5 separate regions of the Homo sapiens genome follow, and all the other regions are linked to region 4. Evidence: promoter capture Hi-C in human tissues and cell types (Jung and others, 2019). All regions are on one chromosome and are shown on one strand. Each heading gives the region's core, a stretch centred on a gene start or on the middle of the fragment in contact. The rest is flanking DNA. Distances are from core to core; before and after follow the strand shown. Region 1 overlaps EPS15L1 (epidermal growth factor receptor pathway substrate 15 like 1). Region 2 overlaps MED26 (mediator complex subunit 26). Region 3 holds the start of CALR3 (calreticulin 3). Region 4 holds the start of AP1M1 (adaptor related protein complex 1 subunit mu 1). Region 5 overlaps MED26 (mediator complex subunit 26).

Region 1 (3,213 bases), core at 681-3,180, 260 kb after region 4:
CAGGAGTGGGGGAAGGGTAAGAGGGTTCGCTGTTTTCCCCCCTTGAGGGCACAGATGCAGACTGCAAGGCACTGGAAACAGCAGAGGACTGGTTAAGCTGCTAATAAATTGCTGAGTCTCCATGGGACAGAATAAATACCTTACAGCCATCAAAACAGCAGAATGTTTACAAATGGGGTCCAATCTTCATCAGCTTGCTAAATGAGAAGGGGGCAATCTAGCAGGTGCAGTGTGTGACCTGGCTTATAAGCACACGGTATCCTATCGCCCCGCTACTGGAACCTGGCGGGACAGGGCCATGCTTACCAGGATTTCTACGGGCCAGCTAGTTTGCTTCCTCATGGCTTCCTATGTTCCCTGGTGTACTATGTCAGCATGAGCTGCTTTTGTAAATTAGACAGAAATAGAAAGATGTGCAAGGAAAAGCAGGATCTGAAGGAATTTTCATGGATTCTCCCCAGGGACCCAAATGAGTGCCTTGTGAGACCAGCAGAAGACGAACATGCTCGGGGCTCAAGGCCTCCATCCAAACCAGACAGAACTCAGGGCCTACAGTGGGGCATGGCACAGGGGTAAGGCCTACAGTCGCTGCCCTGGAGAGGAACCAACAAGCAAGAGAACTGCCCCGAGCATTTAGACATGCAGCAAAGCAGCAAGGTCAATGACATGGACCAGGAAGGTCGTCAGAACACAGAATCAAGGTTTGAAAGCTTTCTTTTTTCTTTTTTTTTTTTTTAAGAGACAGCTCTGGGCCAGGCATGGTGGCTCACACCTGTAACCCCAGCACTTTTGGGGGCTAAGGTGGGTGGATCACCTGAGGTCAGCAGTTTGAGACCAGCCTGGCCAACATGGTAAAAGCCTGTCTCTACTAAAAATATAAAATTAGCCAGGTGTGGTGGCGCACACCTGTAATCCCAGCTACTTGGGAGGCTGAGGCAGGAGAATTGCTTGAACTAGGGAGGCAGAGGCTGCAGTGAGCCAGGATCACATCATTGCACTCCAGCCTGGGCAACAAGAGCGAAACTCCATCTCAAAAAAAAAAAGAGAGACAGCTCTGTTGTCCAGGCTGGAGTGCAGTGGCACGACCATAGCTCACTGTAGCCTCAAATTCCTGGGCTTAAGTGATCCTCCTGCCTTAGCCTCCTGAGTAATTGGGACCATAGCCATGCACCACCATGTGTGGCTAATTTTTTTTTTCTTTTTTTTGTAAAGATTGGGGGGGTCTCATTATTTTGCCAGGCTGGTCTTGAACTCCTGGCCTCAAGCAATCCTCCTGCCTTGGCCTCCCAAAGTGCTGGGATTACAGGCATGAGCACCAAACTCAGCATTCCAGAAACAGAACTGCTGGAGAAAAAACATTGCCTGCAGCAGGCTTCCTGCCTCGATGCACTGCCCTGTGGAGGATGCAGGACTATGCTGAGCCCTAAACGTCTTCAGGAGAGACTGCCCAGCTCCATCTACACCTATGGGCTGTGTTCTCCCATCTTGCTTCACTAAGAGAAGCTGTCTCATGTGGAGGTCAACAGTGCTGCCAGACAAATGTGGATTTGAGTCCTGTCCTGCTGCTGGAATGCTGTGCAACCCTGGGGCAGGACGAGCAGCCTCTCTGTGCCTCAGCTTCTGCATCTGGAGATGAGGGTGAGCACTCCCACCCCCGGGGACTTGTCAATCACCGGCTGTTGTGATTCCTGGTATCCTCCTCATCGCCCTCCTTCCACTGGCTCCAGGTAAAAATGTACCCTCTCCCCAGAAACATCCCTCCATCTCTCTTCCACCTCCAGCTACTGACCTCCCCCCACCCTTCGCATAAAACCTCCTGAAAGCCAGGCGCAGTGGATCACACCTATAATTCCAGCAATATGGGAGACCAAGACGGGTGGATCACCTGAGGTCAGGAGTTCGAGACCAGCCTGACCAACATGGAGAAATCTTGTCTCTACTAAAAATATAAAATTAGCTAGGCATGGTGGCACAGGCCTGTAATCCCAGCTACTCAGGAGGCTGAGGCAGAAGAATCATTTGAACCCAGGAGGCAGAGGTTGCAGCGAGCCGAGGTTGTGCCATTGCACTCCAGCCTGGGCAACAAGAGGAAAACCCTGTCTCAAACAAACAAACAAAAAACCCTCCTGAAAAAGGGTCCACCCTTGGATTCCCCAGCTCTCCCTTCTTTGGACCTGGAAATTTATTTGTTTGCTCACTCAATCAACACATGCTGAACTCGTGCTAAGAGGCAGCACTGAGGATACAAAAGTGTGTAGGACAGAGTCCTGGGCTTCAGGCCAGGCGTGGTGGCTCACGCCTGTAATCTCAGCACTTTGGGAAGCCAAGGTGGGTGGATCACATGAGGTCAGGAGTTCGAGACCAGCCTGGCCAACATGGTGAAACTCTATCTCTACTAAACATATAAAAATTAGCTGGGCGTGGTGGCGGGTACCTGTAATCTCAGCTACTTGGGAGGCTGAGGCGGGAGAACCGCTTGAACCCAGGAGGCTAGAGGTTGCAGTGAGCCAAGATGATGCCATTGCACTCCAGCCTGGGTGACAAGAGTGAAACTCCATCTCAAAACAAAAACAAAAACAAAACAAACAAAAAATAGAGTCCTGGGCTTCAGGAAGGGCAGGCGGGACAAAGTCAGCCCAGGACTATGGCACAGGGGACCGCATGATATGACTGCAGCAGTAGGCACAGTGAGGGGAACTCAGGGCTTGGGGCCAGGTGTGCACCGGGACAGAGAAGACAGGTGAGCTGTGGGTGATTCAGCACGGCCCCAGTCAGGTGGAAGGGCATGTGCATAGGATGCCAGGGTCTGTGCACGCTGTGCTGAAAAGACAGGATGTCATCCCCAGGGCAAGCAGAACATGGGGAGGGGGTGCCTGCAGGCCAGCAAGGTGGGCGCATATGCATATGAGATGGTAAACGGCAGAAATCCGCTGCAAGGAGCAGGGCTGGAAGGAAGTGATCAGAGAGAGACTGCCATGGCCCTCCAGCAGCAGAACTCCAGCAGCCTGGGGACTGCAGCGACTCACAATGCAGACACCCGGAGAAGGAGGACATGCCAGTTCCCTAAAAACGAATGTGTTTCCTTGGGATGTCCCCAGGGGCATTGAGGTGGAAATCTAATTGCCATTCTAGACACCTTGGTGCAGGTGTGGAGGTGAACAACGGGACATTCCCCACCCACAGCCTCATGGAGCTGTGACAAAGCACAGAGAC
Region 2 (3,224 bases), core at 386-2,885, 380 kb after region 4:
ATAAAGAGAGCAGAAAGTCACAAAGTGGGAGAAGGCATAGGCCACAGGCCCCCAAGGAGCTGTATCTGGAACACAGAATGCCTGTACAGCAGTACAGCTGACCAGGAGCCCGGCGTAGACTGGCCACAAGACAGGAACAGGCACACGGCAATGAAATGTCAGTGCTGATGCTCAGCCTCTCAGCTTTATCGATAATCAGGAAAACTCAAACTGAACCCACAAATGGATACATGATACACGTGCCCCACTGACAACACTAGGTACTTCGGGGGATACAGCTGACTTTGGGGACTGCTGGGCTTTGTCTGGCAGAGTGAAGCATGAACACATCCCATGACCAAGTAATCCCTCCCTTTTAGGATCTTGCTAGGAGCCACACCTTGTTCTAAGCACTTCCCACACATTACTGACTCCCTTAATTGTTACAACAAGAATTCCTACCACTCAACCACCACCTCCAGCAACTACAGGTTTCTGGTGGGCTGGCTAGCGGGTGGGAGCCCAGGGGCCCTGAGGAAACCACAGTGAGTAGATTACTCAACTCCCCCCCACCCCAACATGATAAAGGAGTTAAGCGGGCACATGATACAAATTAAAACAGCATAAAAGGGCACACAAGGAAATGGGCATCTCTGACCCAGCCACTGTAGCATTTCCTTGCATTTTTTTCCAAAAATATCCCTTGTGTATATAGGCGTATACATCCACACTTATCACATATTTCAAAACCAAACTGACAGTGGTTCTTGCCTTTTCTGACTTAATGTCAGCAATGTCCAGCCTCAAACAGAGCCCCTCATTTGGCTCACCATCCCTTCCAGAGTGGGGAAGGCCCGACTTGAATGCTGTGGGACACTTAGGCACTTTCCGTCCGCCATTACAAAATAAGGCTGCAACCGACGGCAGTGACAGACCTGACTCTGAGCTAGTGCACAGACAGCCATGGAGGAGCTGGGGCTCCACATCCATGCAGGGTGGTCACCTCACCCCCAGGGAGGCTGCTCTATTCCATTCCCACCAGGCCACATCCTTGCCAAGACTGCGTGGCAAGAGTTTCCGTAACACATGATTGTAAACTTAGCATCTTACACAGCACACATTTATCATCTTAGGCTCTAGGGCTCAGAAATCAGGTCTGAGTCTCACTGGGCTGGGATCCTCTCTAGAGGATCCATTTCCTGCTCCTTCAGGTGTTAGCAGAGTTCAGCTCTTATTTTGTTTTTTTTTTTGAGATGAAGTTTCACTCTTGTCGCCCAGGCTGGAGTGCAATGGCACGATCTCGGCTCACTGCAACCTCCGTCTCCTGGGTTCAAGCAATTCTCCTGCCTCAGCCTCCCGAGTAGCTGAGATTATAGGCACCCGCCACCACGCCCAGCTAATTTTTGTATTTTTTTTTAGTAGGGACAGGGTTTCACCATGTTGAAGGCTGGTCTTGAACTCCTGACCTCAGGTGATCTGCCCTCCTCGGCCTCCCAAAGTGCTGGGATTACAAGCGTGAGCCACTGCACCCGGCCCAGAGTTCAGCTCTTTACACTACAGGAATGAGGCCCATTTTCTTGCTGGTTGTCATCCGAAGCCATTCCCAGCTTCTGGAGGGCACTGCATCCAGCTCACACCCCCTCCCCTTATGCTCAAAGCCAGCTACAGGCTGAGTCCTCACCCGGCATCTCTCTGACCCAGCCAGGATAGGTGCCATCTCTAAGGACTCCCTGACTAGGCAGGGCCTGCCCAGATGATCTCGGATCACCTCCCCATCTCCAGGCTGTTCCCTTAGTCACATCTGTCATGTACGGTACCATGTGCCCAGGCTCCAGGACTAGAATGTGGACGTCCTTGAGGGCTGTTAATTCTGCTGGCCTCATGGATTCTGGCTTTTCTACTCTTCTGCCCCACTTCCAGTGGGAGGCAGCCACTGCCACTCCCTCCCTTCCCGTGTTGTCTCCTCTGGGTGTAAAGTTGCAGAGCCACGACAGCAGTCCCCGCAGAACTCCCACAAAGCTGCCCTGCCAATGGGCCCATTTGCTCTTTGGCAACAACGGCCTTGCCTTGCAATGTTCTCCATTCAGGGCTCCAAATGACCCTGAAAACCCTGCTTCAAGCTGTGTCATGGTGGGGGTGGACGGGTGATATGAGGGGAGATACAGTCCTGTCCGCACTCCTCGTGCAATGGGCAGGGATCAGTGCAGGGGAAGACTGTGCGATGAGGAGGCCAGTCCCAGACAGACAGCAAGGCCAACCACTCCCTGCCCCAGGCACTCCAGCACCGACTCAGTCCCTGGGCTTGCCACATGGCTTCACCTCCACCCTGCTGACCTCACCCTGGTATATTTGGAGCCCTGGTTCCCCACATACTCCTGAAGCAGCAGTCCTTGCAGAGCAGAACACTGCCCAGACCCAGCTAGCCTGGTGGCACAAAGTGTCCTTGTCCTTGGGCAGACACCATCCTGCTGCCAGACAAGAGGGAGGAGACAGAACACCTGGGCAACCCCAGGGTCTGGTACTGAGCTGGTGCCCCAGAAATCACCGCTGAACTAACAGCCAGTCCCAAGAGTCTCCTGGAAACTGTGTGGGAGCTGGGGACACCAGGCGAAGGTGTGAGGGCCCTGTGACTGTGTATCCTTACCCTTGGCCCCTCCCCTGCCTTATGAGCCACGCTTAAGCGTGTGCAGAGAGGCCTTCAGCCTCTAGGAGCCCCAAGGGAAATGCTACAGCCTTGGCAGTCCCCTTTCTGTCCCCACCGTGTGAGCTGCTCACCTGAGGAGTAGAGGAGCCCGCCTGCTCTACCTGTAAGGTGCTAGAAACCCACAGTCCTACGCCGTAAACAGATGAACTCTGCCAACACCTGAAGGGGCAGAAAATGGATCCTCCAGAGAGGAGCGCAGCTCGCTGCTTCCTGGATCCCAGCCCGGTGAGACTGGAGCTGACTTCTGAGCCCTAGAGCCTGAGATGATAAATGTGTGTTGTGTAAGACACAGAGAGAGGGTGAGTGTCCAGTGCGGCCACTCCCTGGAGCCAGCAGAAGGCAGTCAGTGATGTCAGCAGAGCTAAGGATGGGGGCAAGGTGAGACTGCCCTGCCCTGCGACCTCTGGGGCATTGATGTCAAGCAGTCTGAACACTGTGTGGGGAGCACCACCTGGGCATCCAGACACAGGCCTCCCAGGCCCAGGAGGCAGACACTGAGCAATGCAGCGAGGAATCCCTGCAAAGGGCCTGGCCCCGACCC
Region 3 (3,545 bases), core at 644-3,143, 300 kb after region 4:
CTGGTCTCAAACTCCTGACTTCAAGTAATCCGCCTGCCTTGGCCTCCCAACATGCTGGGATTACAGGCGTGAGCCACCGTGCCTGACCATATTTTTCTTTTTTTTTGAGATGGAGTCTCACTCTGTCACTGAGGCTGGAGTGCAGGGGCATGATCTCTGCTCACTGCAACCTCTGCCTCCCGGGTTCAAGTGATTCTTCTGCCTCAGCCTCCCGAGTAGCTGGGACTACAGGCATGAGCCACCACACCCAGCTAATTTTTGTATTTTTAGTAGAGACAGGGTGTCACCGTATTGGCCAGACTGGTTTTGAACTCCTGACCTCATGATCCGCTCGCCTAAGGCCTCCCAAAGTGCTGGGATTACAGGCATGAGCCACCGCGCCTGGCCTATTTTTCTTTTTAATACGAAAATTAAAATGAGAAAAAGTACCCACTAACCTTTTCCTTCTGAGGGGCATGGCCCTTGATCCTCAAATGCACTTGACTAGTGTCTATTAAGAGGGGCAATTTTGGTAATGCCTACTAATAACACATTCATATAAATATAATCCAAAGAAGGTTAAATACCATTGCATATTTGACAGTGCTTCAAGTATGATTTTATTATACCAAATAAGCTGAATATGTCTCCTTGGACTTCAGGGGACCTAATACCAATAAAAGTAATAATAATGATAATAGGCCAAGCACCATGGCTCACGCCTATAATCCCAGCACTTTAGGAGGCCGAGGCAGGTGGATTACTTAAGGCCAGGAGTTTGAGTCCAGCCTGGGCAATGTGGTGAAACTCTGTCTCTAAAAAAATTAGCAGGGCATGGTGGCGCACGCTTGTAATCGCAGCTCCTCAGAAGCCTGAAGCAAGAGAATCACTTGAACCCGGGAGACGGAGGTTTGAGTGAGCCAAGATCGTGCCACTGCACTCTAGCCTAGGCGACAGAGCGAGACTCCTACTACCAAAAAAAAAAAAAAAAAAAAAAAGGAATCTTTGGCAATAAAGAAAGGAGAGAGGAGGCTGGATGTTGTGGCTCATGCCTGTAATCCCAGCACTTTGGGAGGCCAAGGTGGGTGGATCATGAGGTCAGGAGTTCGAGACCAGCCTGGCCAACGTGGACCCTGTCTCTACTAAAAGTACAAAAATTAGCCGGTCATGGTGGCGCGCGCCTGTAGTCTCAGCTACTCGGGAGGCTGAGGCAGGAGAATTGCTTGAACCCGGGAGGTGGAAGTTGCAGTGAGCCGAAATCGCGCCACTGCACTCCAGCCTGGGCAACAGAGCAAGGCTCCGTCTCAAAAAAAAAAAAAAAAAAAAAGGAGAGAAGAAACAAAAAAACAAGGAAAGGAGCCCCTTAAGTTCTACCTTTGCCTTAATGTCTTCATCTGTAAAACGGGAATAAAAGCGTTTTGGCTGTGCCACAACTACCTAGAGAGGTTGCTATGGAAATGTAACATTAGGCTCAATTTGGTCCTGATTCTACACTAACCTTTATCTTTCTCTTTATGACCATAAAACTTGCCCGACGAAAGTCTAAAATGCCCAAATCGGGAGTCATTGGTGGACTGCAACCATCGGTTTCTCCAATGCTCTGTGGGGAAGGGGAAATAACACCGGTTAGAGGTGATAATGGTTAATTTGGGCTAAGGGAAGGGTGAAGGGGACCCTCGAGGATTCGAGGGTTCGCTGCCGTGGACCCCGTGGCGACTCTGGCCAGCCTTAGGGGGCGGAGATGGGGGAGCTTACACCTCCGCCACCACGGGCGTGGCCCCTTCACCTCCGTCTAGAAATTCCTCTTGGAAATAGACGGTAGCCAGCGCCACTCGCAGCATGCATATGGCCCAGAGCTGGACCAAAGCCCGGGCCATGGGGGTGTGCACTGCGCTTCCGGTCGCCGCCACCCCTTAGCTCCCAGCTCTCTCTGCGGCTCTTCAGGCGCGTCCCGAAACTACAACTCCCGTCACAACTCGCGATTATGACCTGAGGGTCCCATTGGTCGCTGCGGCGCGGGGCACGTTGGGCCCGCCCCGGAACTACCGCTCCCATGACACCCCGCGATTGTGATTCGGGGCGCCATTGGTCTGCGGGGCGCGGTGCTTCCCGGGAGATGTAGTCTCTTCTGCTCTGGCTCTGTTGCCCAGGGCAACCGCTCCTTCAGGCGTGAATGTGGCGGCTGCCTCTGCGAATGGACGGCGTGGGAAGAGGTCGGCAGGGCTGGTGGGGAGGTGACCTAGCTGGGCGTCCGGGCTCGCGAGGGGGATACGGGGAAATGGGGCCTTCTCCGGGGCTGAGCTGGTTGGGCCGCTGCAGGATGGTCCCGCGCCTCAGTTTCCCTGTCTGGGGTCTATTGGAGCATGGTCCTGCGCGGGTCGCTTCATAGCTGGGGAGAAGAGCAGGATGGTCTCAGGGGCGCCAGGGTTTTCAAGTTTTGGTTTGTTGATTTGTAACAACTTTATTGAGCCTTCATTTACATACCATAGTGTTCGCCACTTTTAAGCTGACGACTCCGTTATTTTTAGTAAATCTACAAAGTTGTGAAGCCGTCGCCACCATCCAGCTCATCCAGCTTTAGAACTTTGCGTCAGGCCGGGCGCGGTGATTCACGCCTGGAATCCCAGCACTTTGGGAGGCAGAGGCGGGAGGATCACTTGAGGCCAGGAGATCCAGACCAGCCTGGGCAACCTGGCGAGACCCCATCTCTAAAAAAGATAAAAATAAAAAATTAGCCAGGTGTAGTGGCACGCGCCTGTAGTCCCAGCTACTCAGGATGTTGAGGCAGGAGGGAGGATTGCTTGTGTCCAGGAGGTCAAGGGCTGCTGTGAGCTGTGATCATGCCACTGCACTCCGGCTAATTTTTTGTATTTTTAGTAGAGATGGGGTTTCACCATGTTTGCCACGCTGGTCTCGAACTCCTGACCTCACGTAATCTGCCAGCCTTGGCCTCCCAAAGTGCTGGGATTATAGGCGTGAGTCACAGCACCGGCCCGATCTGCTTTCTGAGTTTATTGGTTTGCCTTTTCTTGACAGTTCTTACAAATGAAATGATAGGGTGTGTGGAGTTTAGTGTCTGGCTACTTTCTTTTTTCTTTCCTTTTTTTTTTTTTTTTGAGACAGATTCTCGCTCTGTTACTTAGGCTGAAGTGCAATGGTGCGATCTCGGCTCACTGCGAACTCCGCCTCCCAGGTTCAAGCAATTCTCCTGTCTCAGCGTCCTGAGTATTTGGGATTACAGGCGCATGACACCACGCCCCGCTAATTTTTGTATTGTTAGTAGAGACGGGGTTTTACCATGTGTGTCAGGCTGGTCTCGATCTCCTGACCTCGTGATCCGCCCGCCTTAGCCTCCCAAAGTGCTGGGATTACAGGCGTGAGCCACTGCGCCCGGCTTGGCTACTTTCCCTTAGCGTGATGTATTTGAGATTCCTGCGTGCTGTTATATTAGTATTTGTTTTTTAAATTGCTGAACTGTATTACACTGTATGGATGGACCATAGTTTGTAATCCATTCACTAATTAATGGATAGTTACATTGTTTTCCGTTTTAGTCTACTAGGAGT
Region 4 (3,251 bases), core at 391-2,890:
GGTGTGCATTCATCTAAAGACGTAAGTAAGTTATAGTCTTTTAACCCATAACTAAGATCTGAGTCCTGAAGACCTTCCTCTGGAGCCTCAGTAAATTTACTTAATCTAAGTGGGTCCAGGTGCTGGGGTGATTACCCTTATCTTATCTCCTGCTAAATCATGGAGGTTTGGGGGAGTTCCTTCAAACCCCAATAAACTTGTTTGTGGAGGCCTGAGGAGTTTCTTCAGACCGCCAATAAAGCTTGTTTAATCCTAAAAGGGTCCTGTTAAGAATTCCTTCATTATCTTGTCATGCTTCAAGGCCCAGGAAAGGCCTAGGCACAACTCTGGGTGGGCTTTTGTTACATCCCAGCCTTTGTATAAGGGCACTGGCTCTCTTATCTTTTAATATTTAACTTAACCCTTGTAATCCCAGCACTTTGGGAGGCCGAGGTGGGTGGATCACGTGAGGTCAGGAGTTTGAGACAAGCCTGGCCAACATGGTGAAACCACGTCTCTACTAAAAATACAAAAATTAGCTAGGTGTGGTGGCACATGCCTGTAATCCCAGCCACTTGAGAGGCTGACACACAAGAGAATCACTTGAACCCAGGAGGCAGAGGTTGCAGTGAGCCGAGATCATGCCATTGCACTCCAGCCTGGGTGACAGAGTGAGACTCCATCTCAAAAAAAAAAAAAAAAAAAAAAGCAAACAACAAAAACCCTCTCTTGGCTGCTTGCTCTGTGCCTTGAGCAAGAATCCTTCCAGCCCAGGAGTCACTTAGCAGTCTTCAAACATTCTAGTTTGCTTCTCTAGAGTTTCGGTCACATTTCTTTCCTAAGCAAAACACTATATAATTACCGAGTTGCAAAAATCATCTTTCCAAACGCCAAAACGGAGATAAGACAGAAAATAAAAGATGTGAGAGGCAGGCATCCTGGGTAAATCACTCTGGTATTGCAGGGTTGGGATCCCCAGGGTACTATGATGGCTAACTGGAACAGAATGCAGGCATTTCTCCAAAGCCCAAGAGTTCATAAAAGCAAATTAAATATGACTCAATGGATTAATCAAGGGCCACCAGTTGCATTACTGATTACTAACTTTGCAGAAATGAAACACGGTATGTTGGGTCAAGGTTCAGTGAGGCTGGTTTTCATAACATTCCAGGCAATAAACAGGCACACTCATTCATTGATAAATGTTGACAATGACAGGTGGTGACTGTTGATAAGGTTTGATTGCCATTCAGAAAGTTTGTTTGACCTCTTTCCAAGTAACCACGACCTTACCTCTCTCTTTTGAGCTTATCACAATTGGTGACTGTACACTTGTTTCATAGACTTCCCCACCAGACTGTGAGCTCCATAGGGCTGGGCCCCAGGTCGGTTTCACCACCAGGCTCTCTCGCCTAACTCGGCCCACGGGAGGCCGTTTCCAGCTGCTCTGGCTCCATAGCTCAGCCTGGCAGCGGCCACTGGGTGCCCTGATTTGGTCGGCCCCGCCCCACCGGGCCTTACTTCCGGGATGCTTCTGGCGGGAGCAAGAAACATGGTTACATACGACGTAATGCGCCTGCGCACAGTCCGTCCTGCGCCTGCGCATTCCTGACAGCACCTCCCGGACCGGACATAACGGTCCCCGCGCGGCTCCCCGAACCGGAAGTGGAGGTGAGCTGTCGCGGGCGGCGCCCGGCCTTGCTCAACGCCCAGCAGTCCCCACCGTCGCTGCCGCCGCCACCGCCCTCGGCCGCTGCCGAGGCCTCCTGCAGCCATCATGTCCGCCAGCGCCGTCTACGTGCTGGACCTGAAGGGCAAGGTACTGAGGGCTCCCCACCCTCCCTGTTGCCAGGCAACCGGCAGGGGCCTCCGCCCGCGGGGACCCACCCTGTTGCTAGGTAACCGGCTTATGAGCCCCATCCTGGTGTGAGGCAGAGAGGCCGGTAGACCTCACCTGAGAGCCCCATCCTGTTTCTGGGTAACCGGGCGGGGGTCTTAAGTGGGTAATCCCCGCCCTGTTGCTACGTAACGCGGTGGGCTGCAGCCACCGCGTTGCCAGGTAACTGACTGCACCGCCCTCTGCTCCCCGGCGCCGGGGCCGGGGGCTCGGGCCTCGGTGGAGGACCCAGAAGCGGGGCCGCAGCCGGCCTCGGAGCCAGGCAGGGCGTCCAGGGGCTGCGCGACCCTTGGCCGGGGGTGGCGAGGCGTGGCGGGGACTGGGTGCTCTCGAGCCAGTCCCGCCTTCTCAGGGCGTTACAGCTTCTGTTTATCGTGCACTTTCTCTCAGTAGGAATTTCTCCACGTTCATTGTGATAGTGAGTTACAAGGATTAGGTGAGGTGAGTGGTGATCACGAGTGCCGTTTTATAGAGGGAGAAACTGAGGCATGGAGAGGTGAAGCAACCTGACCAAGGTCACAATGGTCACAGAGAAGTAGCAAGTCTAGGAGTCCGATCCAGAATCATTCGTTTATTCAGCTGATATCTGGGGAGCACCTACTAATGCCGGGCAGGGTACTAAGCCTGGGGTCGATTTGTGTTTAGCAAAAAACAGTCCCTTTTTTTTTGTTTTGTTTTTGAGATAGTGTCATGCTCAGTCGTCCAGTCTGGAGTGTAGTGGTGCAATCTCCACTCACTGCAACCTCCGCCTCCCGGGTTCAAGCAATTTTCCTGCCTCAGCCTCCCAAGTAGCTGGGATTACAGGCACCTGCCACTACGCCGAGCTAAATTTTGTATTTTTAGTAGAGGCAGGGTTTCACCATGTTGACCAGGCTGGTCTCGAACTCTTGACCTCGAGTGATCCACCTGTCTTAGCCTCCCAAAGTGCTGGGATTACAGGTGTGAGTCATGTGCCAGGGCTCAACAATCTGTGTTCTTACGGTGTTCACAGGCTGGTAGGGGAGATGGATACCCATCTCCAAAAACACAAATAAATGTCAATTGCAGTGGTGTTGAGGGGCGAGTGTGTTATACAGACAGTCAGCCTCAGCCCGAGGATGAGAGAGGGTTTCCCTGAGGAGGGGTGACAAATGGACCAGAGACACCAGGGAGCTGGACATAAACTAGAACCCAGGCATCTTCCCCAGAGGATCTGAGAAAACTTTAAGAAGGGATTGTCCCCACCTTTTAGAAATGGTCCTCTGCCTTCTCCTAAGTCCATCCCAGGTGCAAGGCAGGTGGCTGCCTGGCCTGTTGCATGTGGAAGCAACAAGAACCGGTCCAACAATGTGAAGCCCAACATTGATCAGTGAGAGAAACAAACATGGGTGTCAGG
Region 5 (3,148 bases), core at 205-2,704, 410 kb after region 4:
ATAAAAGTTATGTTCTTGGACACAAGCACTCTTTAAAAAAAAAAAAAAAAAAAAAAAAAGGCAATGTTATTTCAGTAATGTTATTCAAGCCGGGTGTGGTCGCTCACACATGTAACCCCAACCCTTTGGGATGCCAAGGCGGCCAGGAGTTCAAGACCAGCCTGGGCAACACAGCGAGACCGTCTCTATAAAAAATACAAAAATTAGTGAGGTGTGGTGGCTAGCACTTGTAGTTCCAGCTACTTGGGAGGCTGAGGCAGGAGGATCCCTTGAGCCCAGTAGCTCAAGGCTGTAGTGAGCTATGATTGCGCTATTGCACTCCAGCCTGGACAAGTAAAGTTTTTAGAGCAAGACTCTGTCTCTAAAAAATAATAATAATAAGCAAAACCTTGCCTCTAAAAATAATAATAATCATAATGTTATTCAACACAAGTTCAGTATTAACTATGCTCCCTAACACCCTGTATTTTATTTTCCTTATAATTTCTTTTTTTTTTTTTTCAAGACTGAGTTTTGCTCTTGTTGCCCAGGCTGGAGTGCAATGGTGTGATCTCGGCTCACCACAACCTCCGCCTCCCAGGTTCAAGCAATTCTCCTGCCTCAGCCTCCTGGTAGCTGGGATTACAAGCATTAGCCACCACGCCCAGCTCATTTTGTATTTTTAGTAGAGATGGGGTTTCCCCATGTTGGTCAGGCTGGTCTCAAACTCCCGAACTCAGGTGATCCGCCCGCCTCAGCCTCCCAAAGTGCTGGGATTACAGGTTACAGGCGTGAGCCACCATCCTTATAATTTCTATGGTAGAAACAGCACATGCACTTTCCCCTAGTCTCGCCTCCAAATTACCCATTGCACCCTGTGGATGCCACTGTTTCCTATGTGTGCCATGACATGGAAGGCTGAAAGCAGTGTGACAGCAGGAGGGCATGGGCTCTGTATAATGGGTGGCCAGGAGAGGCCTGAAGAAGTCCGACTGTCACAAGAACTGGATGAGGGAGAAGGTTCTCCCACAAGAATGAGGGCAAGGGTTCAAGTTAAGCTGAGAAAGGAAAGAAGGGCCCAAGGCCTGTAGCATGTGTAGATCATGACAATAAGGAATGTGGGCGTCTATTCTAAGGGTGATGGAAAACCACTGAAGGATGTGAAGTGACAGTGGTGTCATCTGCTTATCGGTATGGAAGGGACAGGACCAAGAGGGAAATGGCCAGGGTTGGACTCGAGATGGAGGGCAGAGGAGGGCTGGAGAACATGCATCCTGGCAGTAGCCCCCGGGCCTCACAGGTGGAGTAGGTGACTAAGGTGAGAGGAAGGCAGAGGCATGGACCACTCCAGGGTGTTTAGCAGAGCCATGGGGTGTGGCTTCACTGACTGTGTGGAGAAAACCAGGTGTTGTCCAGTCATTTTTGGTGGGATGGACCTCTGGGAACATGAAGAACATGACTGGTGGCCTTGACTGGAGTGTTATGTTGCACACTAGTGTTCTGAACCTTCCGGAAACGTATGAGAGGGGAACTAATCCTCTCCACTGATTGCAGTACATAGAGGCCCGCAATCCACTCCACAGCCGATTGCTCTCTATAGTGCTCAAGTGCTCTTCAGGCTAGAGCAGCCTACTTTTATTTTCATTTTTTTACAGTTTAATTGAAAAGACAATGGAGCATAGGGGAAAACAAACCAACCCATTCCCCCTGCCCCAACCAACACAAGTGCTTCCATTTTACCCCAAGTTCTAGTTCTTTAGGCATCCAGCCTATCCAGATGCCTGAGTCACAAAACCACTCCTTTCCCCCTCATGGTAAGGCCTGCCCATTTTTCTATAGAGCCTTCAGAATCACGCTTTCGGCTATAGGCTATTTGACTCTGTGGATGCACCATGATTCTGAAGCTTCTCCCATGCTGTTTAAAAATAAACTTCATTAAAAAAAAAAGAAGTAAATGGAGACAAGGTCTTGTTATGTTGGTCAGTCTGGTCTTGAACTCCTTGCCTCAAGCGATCCTGCCACCTTGGCCTCCCAAAGTGTTGGGATTACAGGCGTGAGCCACCAAGCTCAGCCTGTAAATAAACTTCCAAGAGTAAAATTACTGGGTCACAGGACATGAGCATGTCTATGCCTCTTGCTACATAAATAGTTTCCAAGAGGGTGACAGTGGCTCTGAGCTCCTGCCAACAGGGTGATGCAGGTTGTTGGGGGTGGGGTAGGAGATAGGCCGGGAGAGATAAAACAGCAACCCGCTGGCTTAACATCCAGTCTTGATTACCCACCAAGGCCATTCTGCCCACATGTTTTTGTGCAAGGTATATGTTCCAGGTATCAATTACGTCAACATTTTTCTGTCCAGTAAAATCTTGGAGATCTTATGATTATGATTACTTTTTGTGTGTTTGGTTTTTTTCTTGAGACAGGGTCTCGCTCTATCACCCAAGCTGGAGTGCAGTAGCGTGATCTTGGCTCACCCTAGCCTCAGCCTACACAGCTCAAGCGATCCTCCCACCTCAGCCTCCCGAGTAGCTGGGACTACAGGCACATGCCACCAGCCCCACCTAATGTTTGTGATTTCTACTACAGACAAGGTGTCACTATGTTGCCAAGGTTGGTCTCAAACTCCTTGCCTCAAGCGATCCTCCCACCTCGGTCTCCCAAAGTGCTGGGATTACAGGCTGGAGCCACCATGCCTAGCCACAATTGTTGATTCTAAAGTATGTCTCTACACAGGAAGAATATTGGCTATTGCTTCTGAAAGGCAGCTTCATGTGCACAAAGTTGTATTTTGATCATCCCCACCTGCAACTGCAGCACAGAGAGATTTGGAAAAGTACAGGCAGCTTTTAAACCTGCTTGTGAATTTCAGCCTAAGCACCTCTTCCAAGGAAGAGGCTCTGGACCCTGACGTCTGGGATTTTGTTCTACAACCAATTTCTTCCTGTTTTCCCCCGAGGGAGCATTTAGAAATGTGTAAATTATGCAATGTTGTCTTGTAACTGCTCCTTGCTGACACTAAAGGAAAGACTACCCTTGAAAAAGAACAGCATTTGTGAAAATCAAAGTTCAGTATCTACAAACTCATCTAGGGGTGTAATACCCCCTAGCTCCTGAAAAGTCGAGAAGGGGCTTATACATGTTTAGTACCTACTAGGTACTAAATTTCCTT

The links. Contacts are between HindIII fragments. The study calls those that stand out against the background at their distance.
Region 1: a contact is called between a fragment that was not itself captured here and the fragment with the promoter of AP1M1 in region 4, in 1 of the 25 tissues and cell types used here (spleen).
Region 2: a contact is called between a fragment that was not itself captured here and the fragment with the promoter of AP1M1 in region 4, in 1 of the 25 tissues and cell types used here (liver).
Region 3: the fragment with the promoter of CALR3 here is called in contact with the fragment with the promoter of AP1M1 in region 4 in 3 of the 25 tissues and cell types used here (lymphoblastoid cells, psoas muscle and spleen).
Region 5: a contact is called between a fragment that was not itself captured here and the fragment with the promoter of AP1M1 in region 4, in 1 of the 25 tissues and cell types used here (liver).

What each region holds. Positions count from the first base shown.
Region 1 is chr19:16,454,098-16,457,310 of GRCh38, forward strand. All of the region lies in intron 1 of EPS15L1 (epidermal growth factor receptor pathway substrate 15 like 1), which reads right to left. Among named protein-coding and RNA genes, the nearest start is that of EPS15L1, 16 kb to the right of the region's middle. RefSeq lists enhancers at 507-1,006, 2,450-3,208. The HindIII fragment of the contact is 6,990 bases long and covers 1-3,213 here.
Region 2 is chr19:16,579,157-16,582,380 of GRCh38, forward strand. All of the region lies in intron 1 of MED26 (mediator complex subunit 26), which reads right to left. Among named protein-coding and RNA genes, the nearest start is that of SLC35E1, 8.4 kb to the left of the region's middle. RefSeq lists a silencer at 2,607-2,656 and an enhancer at 2,834-3,224. The HindIII fragment of the contact is 7,303 bases long and covers 1-3,224 here.
Region 3 is chr19:16,494,274-16,497,818 of GRCh38, forward strand. CALR3 (calreticulin 3) reads right to left here and starts at 1,894. Exons shown (of 9, transcript NM_145046.5): 1 at 1,766-1,894; 2 at 1,478-1,579. The coding sequence starts at 1,856. C19orf44 (chromosome 19 open reading frame 44) reads left to right here and starts at 2,121. Exons shown (of 9, transcript NM_032207.4): 1 at 2,121-2,192. RefSeq lists enhancers at 1,158-1,658, 1,659-2,159, 1,794-2,223. The HindIII fragment of the contact is 12,389 bases long and covers 1-3,545 here.
Region 4 is chr19:16,196,271-16,199,521 of GRCh38, forward strand. AP1M1 (adaptor related protein complex 1 subunit mu 1) reads left to right here and starts at 1,641. Exons shown (of 12, transcript NM_032493.4): 1 at 1,641-1,798. The coding sequence starts at 1,757. RefSeq lists a silencer at 1,785-2,024. The HindIII fragment of the contact is 7,648 bases long and covers 1-3,251 here.
Region 5 is chr19:16,609,908-16,613,055 of GRCh38, forward strand. All of the region lies in intron 1 of MED26 (mediator complex subunit 26), which reads right to left. Among named protein-coding and RNA genes, the nearest start is that of MED26, 17 kb to the right of the region's middle. The HindIII fragment of the contact is 6,796 bases long and covers 1-3,148 here.